Regions from separate parts of the Homo sapiens genome. Here region 2 is linked to region 1. The links are contacts of gene promoters, found by promoter capture Hi-C in blood cells and fetal thymus (Javierre and others, 2016). All regions are on one chromosome and are shown on one strand. The core of a region is centred on a gene start or on the middle of the fragment in contact, and the rest is flanking DNA. Distances in the headings are between cores, read along the strand shown.

Evidence for each region. The method cuts DNA at HindIII sites, captures the fragments that hold promoters and counts their contacts. A CHiCAGO score of 5 or more calls a contact.
Region 2: a contact is called between a fragment that was not itself captured here and the fragment with the promoter of JDP2 in region 1, in 11 of 17 cell types (monocytes, neutrophils, M1 macrophages and 8 more). The highest score is 25.0, in monocytes.

The regions. Positions count from the first base shown.
Region 1 is chr14:75,426,166-75,432,751 of GRCh38, reverse strand. It overlaps JDP2 (Jun dimerization protein 2), which reads right to left and starts at 4,730. Exons shown (of 4, transcript NM_001135048.2): 1 at 4,500-4,730. It overlaps JDP2-AS1 (JDP2 antisense RNA 1), which reads left to right and starts at 5,097. Exons shown (of 2, transcript NR_184172.1): 1 at 5,097-5,282; 2 at 6,041-6,586. RefSeq lists silencers at 4,082-4,251, 4,312-4,491, 4,742-5,011 and enhancers at 4,677-5,234, 5,202-5,261, 5,282-5,611, 5,862-5,961. The HindIII fragment of the contact is 6,934 bases long and covers 3,310-6,586 here.
Region 2 is chr14:75,139,041-75,144,755 of GRCh38, reverse strand. All of the region lies in intron 3 of TMED10 (transmembrane p24 trafficking protein 10), which reads left to right. Among named protein-coding and RNA genes, the nearest start is that of NEK9, 15 kb to the right of the region's middle. The HindIII fragment of the contact is 2,336 bases long and covers 1,242-3,577 here.

The sequences.
Region 1 (6,586 bases), core at 3,481-5,980:
CATGAACTTTCTGTCCATAGAAACAAAGGTTTCAAGGAGGCTATAAAACTCCTGGGCCTCTTTGAGAAGGTAAGCTCCCCTCCGGGCCAGCAGCTGGCTTGGGCTGCCACGAGGAATAGGAATGGGTGTGCACGTGGGTGCGGTCTAAGGTTCAAGGTTTGGTGCTGGGAGAATGCGGAGGTGAGAGTGACAAGCCAAGGAGGGAGGGAGTTTACAGGGGCAAGCCCCATGAGAAATAAGGGGTTGGAAGTCGACGGCAGGGCATGGGCAATGGCGACTGAGACTCAACAAGAGAAGTGGGGGACCTTGGGAGCCAGAGCCTGGGAAGATTCCCAGGACAGAACCGGATGCGGAGGGCAGGAGTCCACAGAGAAGGTCAGAAAGGTGCCAGGCCAGGGGTCATGGCGCATAGTACCTGCTACCATGAATCTTGGAGAATCAACCACCAAGCCTCTTCTTGGAGCTAAGGAATCACCCAGGATGACCTCTCTCTTGGAATCTGAATGACGTAGGTCACGCGGCTTCCAAAAGTCGAGGAGATCCAGAAGGCGAGAAGCAAGATGATGGGGAAGGCCCCAAGACTGAGAGTGAAGGCGAGCAGCAAAAGGCCCTCTTCAGATGGCTGTCCCCAGCTCTGCAGGCCAAGAGGAAGGGGGGGTTAAGAGTGGCGGTTTTGGAGCCAGATCACCTGAGTGTGAATCCTAGCTCTGTCCCTTCTTACTAGCTGTGTGCCCTTGGGCAAGTTCCCTAACCTCTCTGTGCCTCTCTTTCCTCAGCTGTAAAGAATAACAATGTTATTTGCCCTGTATGGCTGTCAAGAGGATTAAATTAGTTAATACTTGGAAAGTACCTGGAACAGTGCCTGCACATAGTAAGAGTGAAGTCAGTGTGGCCACCAGGGCCTTCCTTCCTGGAGGGGCACTAGTGCCAGATGACCCCTCAAGGTCCCTTCTGGACTAGTCTCTGTTTCCTGCAGCCATGAAGAGGATTCTCCCCAGAGGATTCTCCGCTCTCCCACTTTCCAGCTCTAAACCCCAAGGGGGCAGGACCATCTTGCATCCTGGCAGTTGACTGCAGAACAGAAACAAAGGGTGCCAGGTCAGGGCTGGGTAGAAGGTGCAGAAATGGGGCCCAGCACCTGCCCTCGGCCTCGGTTTCCTCTAAGGTCTCCTCCACCCTGCAGGCCAGAACACAGCTGCACAGACACTGGCAACAAGGTGCCATCAAGAACTAGGTTTCCATTTCTGCCCCAAGGCAGACAGCCAGCATCTCCTGTGCCCTCTACTCCATCCCTGCACTGCTTCATAAGAAGACAAGGAGCGGTAGCTGGGTTCAAGAGAAGCCACTGAACACTGGCAGCCGTGATCCCTGCACAGCCATCCCAGCCATAGAAGAACCTGGAACCAACCCCCAGGGAACTCCTGCTCTTCCCTGGAGACCAGAGAAATGCTTCCAAGGCCTTGCCTATAACATCGCTTTGTCCTCTGCCTAATGTAGGCGCTCAATAAATACATATGAAGTTATCTCTGCCAGGAATCTTTAACCCAGGCAGCAAGAGGAAGCTGGGAGCGTACAACCATTGGACAAGCTTTCTATTTTCCCTTCTACTTCACGCCAGCTCTGGTCCTTGGTGGCTGGCAGGGGTTAACACTACCACACCTAATACAGACACACACACAAGGTGTGATAATCGCCCTGGTCTTTTTTTTAAAAAATGCCACTGGCCAGCTGAAGCTTTGCAAATGGAGCTCTGCAACTAAATCCCGTGGGCTGCAGCAAGAAAACAGACTAAAAAACAACAACAACTAAGAATGGTGGGCTCTGGCCAGGCCTCCCACAGCCAGCAATAAGTAAAGAAACACAGTCTGAAAATTCCAAGACTGGGTCGCTAAGGCATTTGTCTCTGCTGAGTTCCGAGAGGCCAAACCACACACACACACAAGAACGCATGTGCACACACATGCACACGCACACACACATACACAGGCACATGGAGCTTGGCAGCCCCTAAGTTCCAGAGCTGGTAATACAAGCCACGGAACCGACTGCCAAGACAAGCAACAGAATGAGCCAGGCCCGGTTTCATTGGCCACCATACGCTGCATATGGCCCGGGACGCAGCCAAAACAGTGTTCTCACCCTCCTCAAAGGCATAGGAGACCCTCTGTTTTCAAACACACCTCCACAGAGCCTTAATTAAAGGAAAATGGAAAAATAATGTGCCTGCTGCCCTCCCCTGCCTATATAGGTATGCACACACACATACCCATATACACTCACTCCATTTTTCTCTTCCTCCCATTTCGGTTTCAAACATAATTCATTCGCATGGAAAAAAAGCAAACTGCATCCTGCAGCAGAAAGGCAGAAAAGAATGTAGCTTGCCCTCAACCCTGGCTCTGATTGCTCAAGTTGAGCTGGAGCTGAATGAATACAGAGCAGGCCGGCCTAGAGTCGGCGTTGGCCCCTTTCTTTCCAGAGTGGAGCTGGAAACAGACACTCGAGAGAGACAGCCCATTGCAACACCAGTAGCCCCACGACAAACAAGGCCCAGAGAGCCTATTCCTGCCAGGGATTCTGCAGGTTGGAAAAAAATGCCCACACATCCTACAAACAGGTAGGGAGATGACAACAAACCCAGGGAGTCAGGAGGAGCATTCCCTGGTAGCTGCAAAAGTTAGGCAGTGGATGAGTGGGGAGACCCTTATCCAAACCCTTCCTAGGGGGCATTGTCACCACTTTGCAACACATCTCCTTGGAGGTGGCTGCAGCCAACCTAGGAGAAAAGCCAGAGGTCTACACACCCATGACTTCCTGCAGCCCACCTAGGAGAAAAGCCAGAGGTCTACACACCCATGACTTCCTGCAGCCCTTCAAATCACACAGCACCCAGCTCTTCAGGAAGATTCTGGAGCTGCCTGCAGCTCTGAACCAAAGCCAAAGTAGAAGGGAACAGAAGAGTCTTTGAGAAATCCATCCTCCCTGCTCTAAACAAGGCAAAACCTTAACCACCCAGAGGTGTGAGAATAGATTTTGCTTCTCTTCCTCGATCCTCAGGTTTATACAAAATCAGAGCCATGCTCACACCTGATACCTGGTTAAACTCTCCCCTAGAAACCTGCAAAGGAAGATAAGCTATCCATCCAAGCTGCAGCCAGATTTGCTGGAAAGGTAAAAGCAATGGGAAGTGTTTTTTAAAACCCTCAGGGAAGGAAGGTTGGGGGGAAGGGAGATGATACGCGAATGCAGTTTCTACCAAGGGCTTAAAGGACGTTTGGGTACAAATGTACCCAAACATGGTTCAAAGCTTCCCAATTCCTGATGCTCCTCCAATTAAGACCCTAGGGAGAGACCACCAAGATTTAAGCCTGGGTACACACGCCTAAGCAGGCTGCAAGCCCTTTCTGAGATATAGACCTGAGCACATTTGCCCTGAGCACACGTGGTCGGGCCATAGCCCCATGCCCTGGATTCCAACAGGGAGGGCAGCACCCTGGGCAAGGGCCACGCCATCTTGCAACTGGAGATGACCCAAGGGGGTCGGCTGATTTCTCCTTCCACCAGCCTCTCCATCCCTGCAAAAGAGCCAGGACCTCCCCATCTTCCCCAGCCTCCTCATCTTCCCTGCTCCTCCTACTGACCCAGGCAAAGCCTGGCTCTGCCATCCCAGGGTCCAGGGATCCAGGTGGAAGGCCCAATCCACCCCTACACTCTCCCACCCCCCACTGCACCCCTACCCCTCGACAACCTCCTTTGAAGGGAGGAGCAGAGGAGAGCCTTCTAAGCTGGGCTGGGCAAGGGAGAGGCTGGTTACCTACAGGAGCCTGCTTGCCTCCTTATATAACCTGGCGTGGGAGACAGGAGAGCCCAAAGGGGACCCCGGCCACCCCTAGATCCCCTCCCAGCCCAGAGCTCCGAAGCAATGGCCATGAGAGAAGCTGCCTTCATTGGATGGAAATCCCGAGCCCTTCTCAATACTCTCCTCCGGGTCCGGGTCCTCCGGGAGTCGCGCTTCCTCACTGCCAGGAGGTCCTTGTCATCCCTCCACAATCTAACCCCGACCCCAACCCCGCACCTCCCTGGCCCTTCACCCTCCACCTCCACCCGCACAGCCCATCTCCGCGGGCACTTTTCTCCCCACTCACCCCGCCTTCCCCGCCGCCCGAGGAGAGCACCTCCCTGCAAACGGACGGGGGAGGAGAGCGCGGGAGGGAGAAGGAGGGAGCACCCCGGCTGTCCAGGGAGCGGACGGAGCCTCCCGTCCCGGGGCGGGAACCAAAAGGAAGCCTCAGGCTGCCGGGCGCCTCGCGGGAGGGGCCCGGCTGCAGCGCCCGGCGCGGGGAAAGCTCGAGGTCCCTGGGCTGCGGGAGCCTCCCCGCGGGGCTGGGCTGGGGCTCCTCGCGCTCCGCCCGTGCGGGGGCGGCCGTCCCAGGTGCCCGCGCCGCGCCCTGCCCCGCCCCGCCCGTCCCGGCGCCCCCAGCGCGCGCCCTCGCACCCACCGTGCAGAAGGTGCGGGGGGAGGCGGCGCCCCCGGGGCCGGGGCCCGGCTGCAGGCGCCGTGCCCGCTCCGCGCCGCTGCCGCCCGGCCGCGGAGCTCCGCCCGGTGCCCAGGCCTGTCCCGGCCCGGGAGCCGCCGCGGCGCCAGCCCCGCCGCCGCTGCAGCGTCCGCCGCCGCCAGCGCCCCCCGTCGCGGCCGCCGAGCGTCCCTCCCGCAGGCTGTGGCGGGCGGCGGGACGGGTTGCATCAGCCCCGGCTATATAGCGGCCCCTGGGCGGCGGGGAGGGGTCGGGAATGCGGAACCGGCCGAGCTGCCAGCTCCAGACGTCAGAGGGGGACGGAGAGGAAGGGAAGGAGGGGACCGGGGAGGAGGGGGTGTGGAGCCGGCGCTTCACACCCACTGACCTTAACCTCCCCCGCCGCCTTGGGCGCCCTCCTCCCGCGGCCGCTCGCGCTCCTCTCCCCGCGGGGGCGTCCCGGGTTCCATGCAGTCCCCCGGCTCCGCCACCCCACGGTGCAGGAGCGCTCGAGAAAGCAGGACGCGGCGAGCGGTTATGTAAGCGCACCCCCCGCGCACCGCCGCCCGGCTTGTGCCCGCCAGGCAGCAGCAGCCGCAGCCCTAGGAGAGAGACGCGAGAGGCCGGAGCCGGGGGAAAAGTCAAAAGCCCCTTCACGCACAGCCTGTGTTAACCATGTACCTCAGTCCCGGCGCTTCCCCCACAAACTGAGAGCGACAGGGAGAATTTCCGCACAGTTTCATCCTTGGACACTTCAGGACTGAGCGGGTGAGGAGGCGATCTCGCCAGCCTGCTTTATTTTTCGGTGGAGAAGGATGGGCTGAGATGAAGGCATTTGGGGACTCCTACCCCTACCCACCGGCCCCCGCCAGCGCCCTTAGGCCCCGAGACGGCTGGCTGCACCAGCCTGACCTCTGCTAGGGCTGCAGCCTGAGACCGCGGCTTGCTCTACTGCTGGCGCAGTTTGACCCTTGGGCTTGTACCCTGCTCCAGCGGGCTTCTCCTTTCCACTCCGGACACAGCAGTGAGCAGACCCAGCCCTCAGCAGACCCCAAGTGGCCTTCTTCCCCGTTCCAGCTTCAATAGCCAACCCCACTCCCACCTTCCATCCTTCTAGAGAGGAAATGGTGAAGGGGACTCCAGAGGGAAGGCGACATCCATGGTGCCCTCCAGTATACAAAGGCAGAGACACAGAGCCCTCAGGTAGAACGGGGTTCCCTAGATGGCATCTCCTACCTCCAGAGCTCCTGGGTACCCATCGAGCCCCCTACCTTCTGCCTAAGCCAGATAGGAGTGACGATTTTTATACTCAGCGACTTTCGGCCTCCTTCTGAGAGTGATGTCAGGTCATCACCCATAGAAGAAAGGAAGTGAAAGAAAAAGTTCATGCCTTCTTGGAGTGCAGATGCTCAGAGTGAAAGAAACAACAAGACTTGAGACAGATGGGTGCCATTGAGCAAACCCGAACATGCATGTCTCTCTCATGTGAGTGAGTGCATGAGACTTTATTCTCCTTATTTCCCCAGTGCAGTGAAATCTTTCTGGATAAAAGAAGTGGGCTAATGGAAGGAGAGACAGACCAAGTCCCAATGACATTGCCTGACCATTTTCACCTTCGCCATCAGCAGTCTCCCTCACAGCATTGGTGTGGGCAGGTAAGAAGAAAGCAAGGCCCTGAAAGAATATACATTGGAAAATGAGCAGTAATTTGATACTCTTGTGGAAGAGCATGACTCTTCGCCCCAGAAAGGCCAATGACACCTTTACTACAGCGTAAAGATCAAAGCCAGGGACTGTGAAACTGCCTCATGATGTTTCTCCCATGAGACCTGTGTCTGGATGTTTATATGGAACAAAACATGGAACAGAGGCAATAGTACTTGATGTGTCTTCAGCTGGGGCTTTGGATAAACTAAACTGATCTATATTCAGGGACTAATAATTAGGGTGTGTGGTTAGAGCGCGTCCTCTCTAGGGCCTGTTTTGGACTGTGGCTGGGCCACCAGCAGTCCTACTGGGCCTTTGCTTCCCCCACAAATTAAATATGTTACAGGGGTGGCACCAAGGGGTGA
Region 2 (5,715 bases), core at 1,160-3,659, 290 kb after region 1:
AACGATTTAATTTCAGGCCCTTGAGATAATGGAGAGGCTTTATCTCCAGAGGATTTGGAATCTTTGGCATCAGCATTAAGATTCGGGAATGTGGCATACTTCTTTAATTTTCATGTCCAACACATCTCTCCCTCATATCTGTGGACTCATAATTCTGAAATCCCATGTGGTCCTGTAAGATTGAATAGTAATTGTACCACACTACCTACCTAAATTGTTATTAATTAATCCATGTGAAATTGCTATGTAACACAATACAAATGTAAGATGATATTATTTGGAAGACAGAATGCTTGTCATACTGTGAAGAAGCATTAAGTCTTGTTGTTTGAATTCTTTAAAGAGAAAGAATGCCTTTGTCCTCGGAAATAAAGCACTTTTGATTTTGATTTCTTGCATTTTATTTTATGAACCTCTGACCACTGTCTCACTTCTGCCCTTCAGAGGGTGTATCTTTGTAGATTCAGGATGTGAACCGAGCCACTTCTTTTTAGTTTGTCATCTGTGAACTAGAGCAGTTGTTTGTAGGGACTTACTGTCTGTGCAGTTGGGAGAATGCAGGCAATTACTGTCCGACAAAGAAGGAGCTATCTGACACATCTTCTAACTCCTGGGCTGTGTGTCCCACGAGTAAAATACCGCTTTGCCTAGGCGATTCTATTTGTCTGTCATTTGCTATCAATCTATATTCCAAAAACACAGCTGCCCTGGTTGGAGCAACAGCTGAAGACTTTCCAAAAGTTCTGTTTCTCTGAGTGCTCTCAGGAAGGAGGAACTCTGATTCCATGTACTAGATCCAAAGTCCTTTTTTTTTTTTTTTTTGAGACAGAGTATCACTCAGTTATTCAGGCTGTAGTGCAGTGGCGTGATCTTAGCTCACTGCAACCTCTGCCTCCCGGGTTCAAACAATTATTCTGCCTCAGCCTCCCGAGTAGCTGGGATTACAAGTGTGCACCACCACACCCAGCTAATTTTTGTATTTTTAGTAGAGACAGGGTTTCACCATGTAGGCCAGGCTGGTCTCCAACTCCTGACCTCAAGTGATCTGGCCACCTCGGCCTCCCAAAGTGCTGGGATTACAGGCATGAGCCACTGTGCCAGCTCTGTTATGTTTATCTTGCTTGTGTTAGACTAGATGGTCTTCACATTTATTGCTGTGCTCCTGGAGTTGGTGGGGGCTGTGGTGGGAGGCATGGAGGCAGCAAACTACTTTGACTGAATTTGTCTTGTCACAAGAAGCTTCTCTCTTGGATCTTGATGCTCCACCAAGGAAAAGAATTTAGAGATTCCCTAGAGGTTAGATTAACACCTCTGTTTTAAGAAGCAGTTTTTTCAGAGAATTAATACCTTTTCTTGGTACAGTTACATATAACTCTGTGAACTCTTTAGATTCAAATCTTCATTATAATGGAAGATTTGGATATGGTTTTAGAAGAGTTTAATTTTACTGGTATTTTGGAGGTGTTATACAGAAAAAGGCTTTGTAACTTGTAGCTTTTCCAAACAGTACCTACCATGACCAGTAAGAATGATGTTAATAGATATGGTGGTAGAGAAGGCTTTCTCCTAGGCGGCGGGCCTCATGAAAATAGATGCAGGCTGGGCGCGGTGGCTCACACCTGTAATCCCAGCACTTTGGAAGGCTGAGGCAGGTGGATCACCTGAGGTCAGGAGTTCAAGACCAACTTGGCCAACATGGTGAAACCCTGTCTCTACTAAAAATACAAAAATTAGCTGGGTGTGGTGGCAGGCGCCTGTAATCCCAGCTACTCGGGAAGCTGAGGCAGGAGAATCATTTGAACCTGGGAGGCAGAGGTTGCAGTGAGCCAAGATCGTGCCACTGCACTCCAGCATGGGTGACAAAGCAAAACTCTATCTCAAAAAAATAAAAAAAAGAAAGAAAAAAAATCAATGCAGAGTGCTTTTAGTATACAAGAAACACTTGCTTCAGGGGACCAGCAGCACTTAGCTACTTTGAGAAAGTTGGCTTCTTTGAAGAAGGCATAGAGTGGGCAGAACAGGTCAATTACAAGTGTTTACCAAGTCTCAGGTCTTTACGACTATATAAACTATAAATCATTTTAATTTCCTTGAGTTCAGGAGCCAAACTAGTGTGGAGGGACAGGATAAAAATAAAACAATTTGTGAATATGACAATATATGATTGAGTGTTAACTGTGTGACACAGTATGTGTTGTAGGGCTTCAGGGAAGACAGTGTGGACAAGAGTGGTTGAAGGAGGCTTTCAAGGAGGCTTGAAAGATAGGTCAGATTTGGGTACAGAGAGCATAAATGCTTTTGGAAGTCAGGGATTCTGTTCTCGAATTTTACAGCAGAGTTTGGCAGTTTAAATGCTGTGATCACCCTGGGTAGGGAGTTAAGAGACCATGGTACTGTTAATTTTGGTTGGACACCCAAAGGGCTGAGTAACTTTATGGAATCTTTAGTTTCCTCATTTGAAAAATGAGGGACTCACTGCAAAATGAAGCACCTTGTAACTATAACATCCTTTGATTATTTAACAACTACATGCAGCTTGCCAGGGGGATATCACCCCCTATTGGAGAACCTGTGGTGCACATTGTCTTACAGACTTGGCAAAACATACCTCATGCTTCCAGTGATGAAGGAGAGTAGAATAGAATACCAGCCTGCCTTCATGAAACATGTATAATTTGGCATTTTTACAGATACTCTGAACAGTTCAATCAACTGCTTACAAGAGCAGAACAACAGAAAGTGGGAATTTTGATATTGAGGATTTTTTAGCTTTTTGTACTGTGATATAAAGCCTCAATGCTATGTATTGAATGCTTAGTCCAGAGCAAGTAAAGAGCGTCTTCTTGAGAATACTTACCATGATTTGTTTTAAAATTTTACTCTGTTGCCCTGCAAAAATAATAGCAATGGGAAACCCAGGAAGTTTATTAGTCAAACTTTATTAGTCAAGCAAACAGGACAACTTATATAGATCCTTGTGGCCTAATATAGCTTGTTCATTTCACCTTTGATTCAGGAAAAACTTAGTATACTCATCTGGTTTTCTTTATTAAATTTCTAGTACTTACAGAATAAACTCACATAGACTTGGATTCTAATGCCAACTGCACCAAGCTGTGATACTTTGGGCAAATTATTTAATACCTCAGAGCCTTAGTTTCCTCATCTGCAAAACTTAAGGATAAAAATATTCACCTTATAGGGTTACGAGGATTAAATGAGATTACAAAATATACTACATTGTGAGCATATATGAATGGCTCTGATTCATTATACTACCTTTTTCATCCCCTTCCCTAATTTAGTCTCAGCCTAACTTTTGAGCCTTTTATTTGCTATTATCCCCTACCCTCCCCAAGCACAAGTGTGTGGCAGTTATGTGTGTACATGCACACATACCCTATAGTCTAGTTTCTAGCACACCAGACTACTTATGTCTAGACTATTCGTAGTTGCTAAACATGCCTGCACTTTACTCCCTCCGTGTTTTGGTTTACAGGTTCCCCTCAGCCTTGAATGCCCTCTCAAAAGTCCTGCCCAACTTGTGAGACCCAGCTCACCCACTTCCTGTTAAGCTTCACTTTGTCCTCCCAACTAGAACTGTTTTTAATGTGTATTTTTTGTTATAGAAGTTACTACATAAAGCCATATATTATGGTTATAACTTACTATATAAGCTGTGAGAGCTTAAGATCATAACTTACCTTGGTACCTTGCACATAATAAGAACTCAGAAAAAAACGTTAAGGCCTTAAAATGTTTAAAAAAAATCAAGAAACTTTTTTATATTTGTTTTAAGCTGGTAATAAAAGTCTATTGTTATATATTCTTGCAATAAAGTTTTTTTTTCTTTATTATTATTACTACTTTGTAATAGAGATGGGGTCTTGCTGTGTTGCCCAGCCTGGTCTCCAGCAATCCACCTGCCTTGGCTTCCCAAAGTGCTGGTATTACTGGCATGAGCCACTGTGCCCTGCCTGCAGTGAAGGTTTTTTGTTTTTTGTTTTAAACCACTGACTACTACTACTACTTCTTCATTTATTTATTTTTTTGAGACAGAGTCCACCCAGCCCAGGCTGGAGTGCAGCGGTGCCATCTCAGCTCACTGCAACCTCTGCCTCCCAGGTTCAAAGGATTCTCGTGCCTCAGCCTCCTGAGTAGCTGGGACTACAGGCATGCGCCACCATGCCCAGCTAATTTTTGTAATTTTAATAAAGACTGGGTTTCACCATGTTGGCCAGGCTGGTCTCAAACTCCTGGTCTCAAGTGATCCATCCGCTTCAGCCTCCCAAAGTGCTGAGATTACAGGCGTGAGCCACCACACCTGGCTAATTTTTTTCTTTTGTAAAAATAAACAGGCCAGGCCCAGTGGCTCACGCCTGTAATCCCAGCACTTTGGGAGGCCGAGGAGGGCGGATCATGAGGTCACAAGTTCGAGACCAGCCTGACCAACATGGTGAAACCCTGTCTCTACTAAAAATACAAAAATTAGCTGGGCGTGGTGGCACGTGCCTGTAATCCCAGCTACTTGGGAGGCTGAGGCAGGAGAATCTGGGTGACAGAGCAAGAGTCCATCTCAAAAAGAATAAACAACAGAAATTTATTTCTCATAGTTCTGGAGTCTAGGAAGTTCAAGATCAGGGTGCCAGTGTGGTCAGGTTCTGGTGAGGGTCCTCTTCTGAATGCATACTGCCTCCTCACTGTGTTCTCACATGGAGGAAGGCGGAATTACTTTCCTTAATAGCATTTAATTGTTAAGTCCGTCAGATTTTGGTGGTTTGAAAAGATCTTTGTTCTTTGATTTCCTCCAAATATTATTTGGATTTCTAGGTTTAGATTCAACATAGAAATATATCCATGATTGTTGTTTTTTACTATTGAGTATCCATGGTGTACTAGGTGTTTGGAATGGCAAGCTAGATTTCAGTACTGTTTTAGTCTCTTGAGATTTCTTTAAGATTTCTAGATTTTAAATTAGTATCATGAGTGAAGGTACTTATTAGGCAAAAATGGCTTCTAGGAAATGAGACCAAAATGAGACCTTCATCCCACTAATGAAGGTCTGAAAATAATTTTCTGGATGAAAGATGGGATTCAATAGATTTTTTTTTTTTTTTTTTGAGTCGGAGTCTCAGTTTGTCTCCCAGGATGGAGTATAGTGGCATGATCTTGGCTCACTGCAGCCTTGACCTCCCAGGCTCAAGTGATCCTCCTGCCTCAGCCTCTCGAAGTATTGGGATAACAGGTGTGAGCCACCACGCTTGGCCTCAGCAGAGATTTTGTTGAGGAAATAAAATCAACTTTGAAGATAGGAATTTGACTGTTTGGTTATGAATAGAGGTGTAGAGTCTGAAGTAGCACCTGTACTAGAAAAGGGGTTGGGAATTGAATGATTAACTAAACAATGTGGAATACTAGCTGTGTGGAATGCTGTGCAGCAGTTAAGAATAAGATGAATTGATAAGCACTGACATTTTTGGAAAGATCTTACTAAATGGAAAAAAGCTATAGAACAATGTGTGTAGTATGCCATTTATAAATAGATTTTAAGTTATATTTTTCTGTGTACATTTACATACAAAAGCATAGTGTCTCAGAAGAAAAGGTGTGGAAAGATAATACATCAAGTTTATAAGCATCTTTACCTCTGGAAAGCAATGTGGGAATTGAGGAACCATGAAGGTAGACTTTTGGTTTATATTCTCTTTGCTTCTG